Linked DNA regions of Homo sapiens: all the other regions are linked to region 3. Evidence: promoter capture Hi-C in 16 types of primary human blood cells and fetal thymus (Javierre and others, 2016). All regions are on one chromosome and are shown on one strand. Each heading gives the region's core, a stretch centred on a gene start or on the middle of the fragment in contact. The rest is flanking DNA. Distances are from core to core; before and after follow the strand shown.

Region 1 (3,512 bases), core at 98-2,597, 230 kb before region 3:
ATGCACCACCACGCCCAGCTAATTTTTTTGTATTTTTAGTGGAGACAGGGTTTCTGCATGTTGGTCAGGCTGGTCTCAAACTCCCAACCTCAGGTGATCTACCAGCTTCGGCCTCCCAAAGTGCTGGGATTACAAGCGTGAGCCACCACACCCGGCTTCTTCTTCTTTTCTTAATTCCAAGGATATCATGGGGTTTTCTTGTTTGGTTGGTTCTGGGTTTGTTTTTTGTTTTTGTTTGTGTGTTGTTTTGTTTTTTGACACAAAGTCTGGTTCTGTTGCCTAGGCTGGAGTGCAGTAGCATGATCTTGGCTCACTGCAGCCTCCCTCTGCCTCCCGGGTTCAAGCCATCCTCCCACCTCAGCCTACCAAGTAGTTGGGACGACAGGTGTGTACCACAAAGCCTGGCTAATTTTTGTATTTTTTGTAGAGACAGGGTTTTGCCATGTTGCCCAGGCTGGTCTTGAACTTGTGAACTCAAGTGATCTGCCTGCCTCAGCCTCCAAAGTGCTGGGATTACAGGCATGAGCCACCATGCCCAGCCTGAAGATAGCATGTTTTGTAACTGTTTTACTTCTCCTTTATGCCTTTTAGGAAGAGTATACAATTTTGCAGCATTGCGAAGCAAATCAAATGGGGACCTTGGTTTGAATATTTAGTTGTCAAATTAAGACAGAAATTAAGAGCATTTTTTACATGTAACTTTGCTAAATCAATTTGCTGTTACTTGCATTTGACAAGAAAAATTTTTTTTAAATGGCATATTAGAATATATTCAAGTATTTGTCGAGTGATCTTACCCTCTATATTTCACACATTTCATGACAAATAATTTTTATAGTTTGTCCTTTTCTGTTTCAACTTATATGGAAAAAAAGTTGATTGAGCTATTATTAGAAATTCGATGATACATTCTGAATACAAGATTCAGGATCTCATTGATTTTTCCTTCACAAATTCCATTATCATTTAAATCTCCAAAGTATATTTGCTTTCAAAATGTTGGCTGAGCAAATGATCTGAGCAATTTTAAATTTTTTTGCCTGTATGTATTTTCCTTTTTGGGGGGTGGGGGTGGGGAGGACAGAGTCTCCCTCTGTTCCCCAAGCTGGAGAGCAGTGGCACTATCTCAGCTCATTGCAACCTCTGCTTCCCGGGTTCAAGCGATTCTCATGCCTCAGCCTCCCGAGTAGCTGGGATTACATGCACGCATCACCATTCCCGGCTAATTGTTTATATTTTTAGTAGAGCCAGGGTTTCACTGTGTTGGCCAAGTTGGTCTCGAACTCCTGGCCTCAAGTGATCCGCCTGCCTTGGCCTCCAAAGTGCTGGGATTACAGGTGTGAGCCACCACGCCCAGCCACGCATATGTATTTTCTTTTATCAGCAGTGGTATTTTAGAATAATGTAGCCCTCTAATAGGAACTTTCAGGACCAGGTGCAGTGACTTATGCCTGTAATCCGATCACTTTGGGAGGCCTAGGTGGAAGGATCACTTGAACCCAGGGGTTAGAGACCTGCCTGGGCAACATAGGGAGACCCCATTTCTACAAAAAATTTAAAAATTACCCGGTGTGGTGGCACATGCCTGTAGTCTCAGCTACTCAGGAGGCTGAGGTGAGAGGATCACTAGAGCCCAGGAGGTTGAGGTTGCAGTAGCCGTGATCGCGCCTCTGCACTCCAGCCTGTGCGACAGAGCGAAACCCTGTCTCAAAAAAAAAAAAAAAAGTGGCAGGCACAGTGGCTCACGCCTGTAATCCCAGCACTTTTGAGGCAGGTGGATCGCCTGAGGTTAGGAGTTCTAGACAAGCCTGGCCAACGTGGTGAAACCCTGTCTCTACTAAAAATACAAAAATTAGCCGGGTGTGGTAGCAGGTGCCTATAATCCCAGCTTCTCAGGAGGCTGAGTCAGGAGAATTGCTCGAACCTGGGAGGCAGAGGCTGCAGTGAGTTGAGATCGTGCCACTGCACTCCAGCCTGGGCAACAGAGTGAGATTCCTTCTCAAAAAAAAAAAAAAATGCTTTCATAATTTTTAATTTTTTGCCAACAATTAGATATGATGAAGCCATCGAGAGTATGTGTTTACATTGCTTGATTGGCAAGATAGTAGTGTGTTAGAAACAATAGCAAGAGAATAATTTCTAGATCCAGAACATCAAAAAAAGCTGTTTTGTACCTTCTTAAGCCCAACCTTGTGTTGTCCAGTATGGTAGCCACTAGCTCCACGTGGCTGTTATATTTTTAATTTAACTAATTTAATTAAAAATTTAGTTTTGGCCAGGCACGGTCGCTCACACCTGTAATCCCAGTACTTTGGGAGGCTGAGGCACGCAGATCACGAGGTCAACAGATAGAGACCATCCTGGCCAACATGGTGAAATCCCATCTCTACTAAAAATACAAAAATTAGCCAGGCATAGTGGCACGCGCCTGTAGTCCCAGCTACTCAGGAAGCTGAGGCAAGAGAATCACTTGAACCTGGGAGGTGGAGGTTGCAGTGAGCCGAGATCACGACACTGCACTCCAGCCTGGCGACAGAGCGAGACTCCGTCTCAAGAAAAAAAAAAAAATTAGTTCTGGCCAGGCGTGGTGGCTCACGCCTGTAATCCCAGCACTTTGGGAGGCCAAAGTGAGTGGATCACCTGAGGTCACGAGTTCAAGACCAGCCTGGTCAACTTAGTGAAACCCCCATCTCTACCAAAATACAAAAATTAGCCAGGCATGACAGTGAGTGCTTATAATCCCAGCTACTCGGGAGGCTGAGGTGGGAGAATCACTTGAACCCAGGAGGCGGAGGTTGTAGTGAGCCGAGATCGCTCCACTGAACTCCAGCCTGGGCAACAGAGCAAGACTCCATCTAAAAATAAAAAAATTTAGTTATTCAGTCACACATATGTCACACATATGACAAGGGTTTTGTTTCACTTCATTTTCTTTCATCAACCTGTTAGAAGGACAAGATTTAATAACCACATGTAACTACTGGTTACCCTGTGGACAATGTGCATATAAAACATTTCCATCATCATGGAAAGTTCTACTGGACAGCACTACCTTAAACTCTTGAAGGATTTTTTTATAAATGTCTGCTAGATACGCGGATAGTTTCTCCTAGTAACATTTGAAAATTCATCTTTAACTTGAAAGTTTTTATAAATGAAGACTTTCCCCCTGAAATATAACTTGTAATGTGGAAATACTATAAGTTGATCTTACAATTCATATTGGGAGAACAGAAAACTGTTGTGTTGTACCTAGATTACAAATGAACACTAAGCTGGAATACATACATTTCACATTCTTCTTTCTAAGCCTCTAACCCTGTGAGCCTTGTATTCGTTTGATAAGCAGCTATTGAGAACCTGCCATGTGAAGGGCTTATGTGTTAGACATACAGCTCATCTTGGTTGGGTGATTGTTCAAAAACATCAGATTATCAAAAACTCAATTGATATTTATAGGTTGTGAAAACATACCAGTGTGACTAAAATTAAATATTTCTTATTTCAGGTTA
Region 2 (3,477 bases), core at 70-2,569, 210 kb before region 3:
ATAGGCCTTTACTTCTATAGACTGAAATAGAGATTTTATGTTATCAATGTATTTATTATCTTTTGAGGCAGAGTCACACCCTGTCACCCAGGCTGGAGTACAGCAGCAAGACCACGGCTCACTGCAGTCGCAAGCAATCCTCCTGCAATCCTCCACCTCAGCCTCCTGAGTAGCGAGCGGGTCTACAGCCTGAGCCAACACACCCAGCTAATTTTGTGTGTTTTTTTAGTTTTTGTAGAGAGAGGGTTTCACCATGTTGCCCAGGCTAGTCTCAAACTCCTGGGCTCAAGCAATTCTCCCACCTCAGCCTCCCAAAATGCTGGGATTACAGGCATGCACCACCACACCCGGCCCCAAAATAGAGATTTTTCTATGGTAATTTTGTTGCCCGAATTCATGGGAATTAGATAGATTTTCAGCTATTAATTCCAATAGTACTCCAACAGCACAGAATCCAGACTGAGTCCATACAACTTGTTTTCTTCCAAGTGGTCATCAATCTTTCATGGCCTGTCCTGGCCAAGTGAAATATAAGTACTTGAATGAGCTTCTTGTTGCTGACATTTAGAATTTCATGGCATTCGTCTGCACTTAATATCTGTCACTGGAAAGGCTGGCAACATTGCAGTTGACTCCTCTTACTGCCAAGGTGTTAATGGTTTAAAAAGAAAAAAAAAAAAGAGAGGCTCTGCCAAGCTTGGTTAATTTAGATACACCCCTAAAGGGGATGAGCCAAAAAGATCTGTACTTCATGGTTTTGTTATAGTGCTGTGTGTATGCACAAGTTTTGAACATAAAACTTTGTGATCTTTATACATAACTGAATTAGTTAAGCAGCACTTTTTTTAACTGAACTCCTCCTTCTCCTTTAAGTGTTTTTTTTTTGTTTTTTGTTTTTGTTTTTGTTTTTTACCAAAAACATTAAACCTAAATCTAATGAACCCCCTAGGATCTAGAGTCTAGAAACTATCAGTGTACAGGAAATACAGGAGGTATAAGATTATGTGAAATGATACCTAAGAGATACAATCTTCAAAGTCCAGAATTCATGAATATATACAGGACAAACATCCTAGTAAAGGGACAGCAATTTTAGGCCAGGCGCAGTGGCTCGCTCCTGTAATCCCAGCACTATGGGAGGCTGGGGCAGGTGGATCACCTGAGGTCAGGAGTTTGAGACCAGCCTAACCAACGTGGTGAAACCCCGTTTCTACTAAAAATACAAAATTACCCAGGTATGGTGGTGCATGCCTGTAATCCCAGCTACTCAGGAGGCTGAGGAAGGAGAATCACTTGAACTGGGGAGGTGGAAGTTGTAATGAGCCAAGATCACACCATTGCACTCCAGTCTGGGCAACAAGAGTGAAACTCTGTCTCAAAAAAAAAAAAAAAAAGAGGCAGCAATTTTAAAAATGAATTATCGGGCCAGGTGCAGTGGCTCACGCCTGTAATCCCAGCAATTTGGCAATTTGGGAGGCTGAGGCAGGTGGATCACCTGAGATCAGGAGTTCAAGACCAGCCTGACCTACATGGCATGCGTGTATAGTCCCAGCTACTTGGGAGGCTGAAGCAGAAGAATCACTTGAACCTAGGAGGCGGAGGTTGCAATGAGCTGAGATCGCGCCACTGTACTCCAGCCTGAGCGACAGAGACTCCGTCTCAAAAAAAAAAATGTAATTAATGGAACAAGCAAATTTTATGTTTGATATGATCTCACGTCTATAATAACATACTAGAAATATATACAGACAGAAAAAAATAGGATATTTATGAAAATGTTAATGTTGATCATCTCTATGGGGAAGAATTATAGGTAATTTTACTTCATTATTTTTTTCTTTTTTCGTATTAATTTTCAAAAATTAATTACAATTGAATTTTCAAATCAGGAAAGAAATTTTTTTTAACTTAAAAAACTTTAAGCTAGACATGCTAAGCTTTCTGTATGAAAATGATATCTCAGAACTTTCCTATATCACTATAAAAAGGGGTTATTTCCATGGCTGTGTTCCTGTATGTAATTTTTTTTTTTTTTTTTTTGAGACGGAGTCTCGCTCTGTCGGCCAGGCTGGAGTGCAGTGGCGCGATCTCTGCTCACTGCAAGCTCCGCCTCCCAGGTTCACGCCATTCTCCTGCCTCAGCCTCCCGAGTAGCTGGGACTAGAGGCGCCTGCCATCACGGCCGGCTAATTTTTTTGTATTTTTGGTAGAGACGGGGTTTCACCATGTTAGCCAGCATGGTCTCGATCTCCTGACCTCGTGATCCACCCGCCTCGGCCTCCCAAAGTGCTGGGATTACAAGCGTGAGCCACCGCGCCCAGCCTTCCTCTAATGTTAATGTTTTTTGTTGTTGTTGTTGTTGTTAATTTTTATTTTTTTTATTGATCATTCTTGGGTGTTTCTCACAGAGGGGGATTTGGCAGGGTCATAGGACAATAGTGGAGGGAAGGTCGGCAGATAAACAAGTGAACAAAGGTCTCTGGTTTTCCTAGGCAGAGGACCCTGCGGCGTTCCGCAGTGTTTGTGTCCCTGGGTACTTGAGATTAGGGAGTGGTGATGATTCTTAACGAGCATGCTGCCTTCAAGCATCTGTTTAACAAAGCACATCTTGCACCGCCCTTAATCCATTTAACCCTGAGTGGACACAGCACATGTTTCAGAGAGCACAGGGTTGGGGGTAAGGTCACCGATCAACAGGATCCCAAGGCAGAAGAATGTATCTTAGTACAGAACAAAATGAAAAGTCTCCCATGTCTACTTCTTTCTACACAGACACGGCAACCATCCGATTTCTCAATCTTTTCCCCACCTTTCCCCCCTTTCTATTCCACAAAACCGCCATTGTCATCCCAGCCCGTTCTCAATGAGCTGTTGGGTACACCTCCCAGACGGGGTGGTGGCCGGGCAGAGGGGCTCCTCACTTCCCAGTAGGGGCGGCCGGGCAGAGGCGCCCCTCACCTCCCGGACGGGGCGGCTGGCCGGGCAGGGGGCTGACCCCCCCACCTCCCTCCCGGACGGAGCGGCTGGCCGGGCAGAGGGGCTCCTCACTTCTCAGTAGGGGCGGCTGGGCAGAGGCGCCCCTCACCTCCCGGACGGGGCGGCTGGCCGGGCGGGGGGCTGACCACCCCACCTCCCTCCTGGACGGGGCATCTGGCTGGGCGGGGGGCTGACCCCCCCCCACCTCCCTCCCGGACGGGGCGGCTGGCCGGGCAGCAGGGCTCCTCACTTCCCAGTAGGGGCGGCCGGGCAGAGGCTCCCCTCACCTCCCGGACGGGTTGGCTGGCCGGGCGGGGGGCTGACCCCCCCACCTCCCTCCCGGACGGGGCGGCTGGCCAGGCGGGGTGCTGACCCCCCCACCTCCCTCCCGGACGGGGCGGCTGGCCGGGCGCGGGGCTGACCCCCCCACCTCCCTCCCGGACGGGGCGGCTGCCGGGCGGAGACGCTCCTCACTTCCCAGACGGGGTGGCTGCCGGGCAGA
Region 3 (3,214 bases), core at 346-2,845:
ATTAGTCTTACAATGCACTATTTTGTAGCAGCCTCCATCTATTCATTTTTCTCAGGTTTTAAAAAGGGTGAAATACACCTAATAGGTAAAATGTGGCAATTTATACTCGGGCTTAATGGCAATCAATGGGGTAATCATTCTAATCATTTTTAAATGCTTTTCAAAAAAATTCAGAAATGGGCCGGGCTTACGCCTGTAATCTCAGCACTTTGGGAGGCCGAGGTGGGTGGATCCACAGGAGTTCGAGACCATCCTGGGTAATATGGTGAAACCTCATCTTTACTAAAAACACAAAAATTAGCCAGGTGTGGTGGCGCACGTAATTTCAGCTACTAGGGAGGCTGAGGTGCTAGAATCGCTTGAGCCCGGGAGGTGGAAGTTGTAGTGAGCCGAGATCACGCCACACTGCACTCCAGCTGGGGCCACAGAGCTGCCTCAAAAAAAAAAAAAATCAAAAGAAAGAAAAAAATTAAAAATTCAGAATTGAATGTTAACACTCAAGATGTAGTAAGAAAAGTTTTTAACTTTTTAAAAATTAAGGAAACTAAAAGCAAGATACAACTGCTCTAGGCAGCCCTACAATGACCTTATAGCTTTTCTTTGATTTCTGGCTCTAAATGGTACTCATAGAAAGACTGATTAAGTTTTGTTTTTCATTCTGGGGTTAGCTGTCTGTTAAAAGGCCTGTTCTAAGCATCCCTCTTCAGCCCTAAGATTTCATAAGTCTTCTAGGAGTTGCTCTCCCAAATACATTGTCTGTATAAACACCAAAAGGTGGATTAAATTACTTTTTTTTTTTTTTTTTAATTGAGACGGAGTCTTGCTCTGTCACCTAGGCTGGAGTGCAGTGGCGCGATCTCAGCTCACTGCCAACTTCTGCCGCCGGGTTCAAGCCATTCTCCTGCCTCAGCCTCCGGAGTATCTGGGATTACAGGCGCGCGCCACCACGCCCAGCTATTTTTTTTAATATATATATTTTTAGTAGAGACAGGGTTTTGCCATGTTGGCCAAGCTGGTCTCGAATTCCTGACCTGGGGTGATCCGCCCGCCTCGGCCTCCCAAAATACTGGGATTACAGGCGTGAGCCAACGCGCCCGGCCAGATTAAATTATACTCTATCCCCAGGTTTTACAAATAGCTCTGGGAGAGACCTGAACCTCACTAGGTGGCAGCTGATTGGAGGTGAGGCAGTGGGGAGGAAATGCCTTCGCCCAGGCTCCGCCCCTGGCCCCACCTATCCTGCCCTGCCAGCCACTCCCATTCTCACCGATTACCGCGCCAACAAAGTGGCTCTTCAAAGCAAAACACAGCGGCAGTTCCTCGTGACCAGCGGCCACGGCCTCCGGGGGCCTAGAGGTGCCTCTCCAGCGACCACCTCTGCCGACACTATATCCCTCAGGACCTGTTCGATTCAACTCCTCCGCCGGCCTCCTCTCTGGCGCTCGGGACACTGTCGAGCTTCGCCGACTAGCAACGACCCACGTAGAGGCCTTGGGAGCTCCTCCGTGGTGGGACATTGTTCCAAGAAGGGGCGCGTCCGACGTCGTTGCCGTCCAGCTCTGCACCACCTGACCGTGACGTCGTAAGAGTAGCGTGCCAGGGAAGCCACGCAGCCGCTACTTAAGGAGCCCGCACGAGGCTAGCCCCCCCGCCCACGCTCTCTATCCCGCCCACTTCGCACTGATTTCACGCAGCCATTGGCCAGTGAGCGTTGTGGGCGGGACTTTCCCAGTTTTAGCCAATCGGTTTTCTGAACCGTGGGAGTGTGCCTTGAAGTAGTCGATGTGCCCCGCCCCCCACCCCCCCACTGTGTATTCCTTTCCAGGCGTGGGACTTTTTCCAAACGCCCAATTTGCTCCCTCCCCTACTGGACACACACCTCGGGTTCCTGGCATCTCAGTGCCTTGGAAACTTTTTTTTTTCTTTTTAAATAGAGACGGGGTGTCGCCGTGTTGCCCAGGCAGGTCTTGAACTCTTGGCTTCTGGCTTCAAGTGATCTTCCAGCCTCGGCCTCCCAAAGTGCTGGGATTACAGTCAGCCACTGCACCGGAAATGTTTTCAACCGTGACCCATAAAGGTAAGTCACTGTTACAAGGTGACCCAATCCACACATAAAAAACTTGAAACAACAGATTGACAAAACAGCATTTATCCTCGCTATGTAAGCTGCATTTTGATACATTTACGCTTATTTTAGTTTTTGAAATGGTTGTAATCCACAAAATTAAAAAAAAAAAATTTAATAGAGATGGGAGTTCCCAGTATGTTGCCCAAGGCTGGTCTTGAACTCCTGGACTCAAGTGATCCTCCCACCTCCACCTCCCATAGTGCTGGGGTTACAGGCCTGAGCCACTGCACTCGGCTCACAAAATGTATTTAATGGCCCACAGCTTAAAGATCACTGACTTGATCCTTTTGTAAGTCATAAGTGTGATTGGGTTTTCATGCTCTTGTGTCAAATGTGCCTCCCTCAAACCTTGTTACGAAGTGGGCACACTACCCACCTGATGTGAAAAATGAAGAGAAAAAGATCACTGGCTTGAGAGACATTCATTGCTCTACACAGTCTTCTGGATGTTTGCTATGTTTTTTTTGTTTGTTTTCTTTTGTTTTGTTTTTGACCTCTGTCGCCTAGGCTGGAGTGCAGTGGTGCGATCACTCACTGCAGATTCGACCTGTTGGACTCAAGTGATACTCCCACCACAGCCTCCCGAATAGTTGGGACTACAGGTGTGCACCACCATGCCAGGCTAATTATTTTGTAAAGACAAGACCTCCCTATGTTGCCCGGGCTGGTATCCAACTCCTCCTGCCTTGGCCTCACACAGTTGAGGGATTACAGGTATGAGCCACAGTGCCTGGCCTGCCATAATTTTAGAGCTAAGGAAATAAATTGAATAGATTCCTGAAGCATTACCGTCACTGCAGCCTGGCTCTGTGGCTGGACATACTACTACTCCAGGGCTTCAAGCCAGCTGCAAGTGCACTCCTTTGATTAGGATCTTTGAATTATCTGAACAAATTTCAGTTTAGGCCAGCAGGGATAACTCATACCTGTAATCTCAACACTTTAGGAGGCCTAGGCGGAGGATCTCTTGAGCCCCAAGGTTCAACATCAGTCTGGGTAACATAGTGAGACCCTGCCGGGTGTGGTGGTACAGGCTGTAGTCCCAGCTACTCAGGAGGCTGAGGTGGGAGGATCACTGAGCCAGGG

Evidence for each region. Contacts are between HindIII fragments. The CHiCAGO score rates a contact against its expected background, and 5 or more counts as called.
Region 1: a contact is called between a fragment that was not itself captured here and the fragment with the promoter of DDX43 in region 3, in 7 of 17 cell types (naive CD8 T cells, non-activated CD4 T cells, total CD4 T cells and 4 more). The highest score is 7.4, in naive CD8 T cells.
Region 2: a contact is called between a fragment that was not itself captured here and the fragment with the promoter of DDX43 in region 3, in 2 of 17 cell types (activated CD4 T cells and naive CD8 T cells). The highest score is 6.9, in activated CD4 T cells.

The regions. Positions count from the first base shown.
Region 1 is chr6:73,626,136-73,629,647 of GRCh38, reverse strand. The region is part of intron 6 of SLC17A5 (solute carrier family 17 member 5); the gene reads left to right. Among named protein-coding and RNA genes, the nearest start is that of SLC17A5, 26 kb to the left of the region's middle. The HindIII fragment of the contact is 6,706 bases long and covers 1-3,512 here.
Region 2 is chr6:73,601,338-73,604,814 of GRCh38, reverse strand. All of the region lies in intron 9 of SLC17A5 (solute carrier family 17 member 5), which reads left to right. Among named protein-coding and RNA genes, the nearest start is that of SLC17A5, 51 kb to the left of the region's middle. The HindIII fragment of the contact is 1,241 bases long and covers 699-1,939 here.
Region 3 is chr6:73,393,209-73,396,422 of GRCh38, reverse strand. It overlaps DDX43 (DEAD-box helicase 43), which reads right to left and starts at 1,595. Exons shown (of 17, transcript NM_018665.3): 1 at 1,268-1,595. The coding sequence starts at 1,517. It overlaps LOC124901538 (small nucleolar RNA U13), which reads left to right and starts at 2,410; the gene lies at 2,410-2,510. It also overlaps a transcript of OOEP not described here. RefSeq lists an enhancer at 1,478-1,978. The HindIII fragment of the contact is 12,904 bases long and covers 1-3,214 here.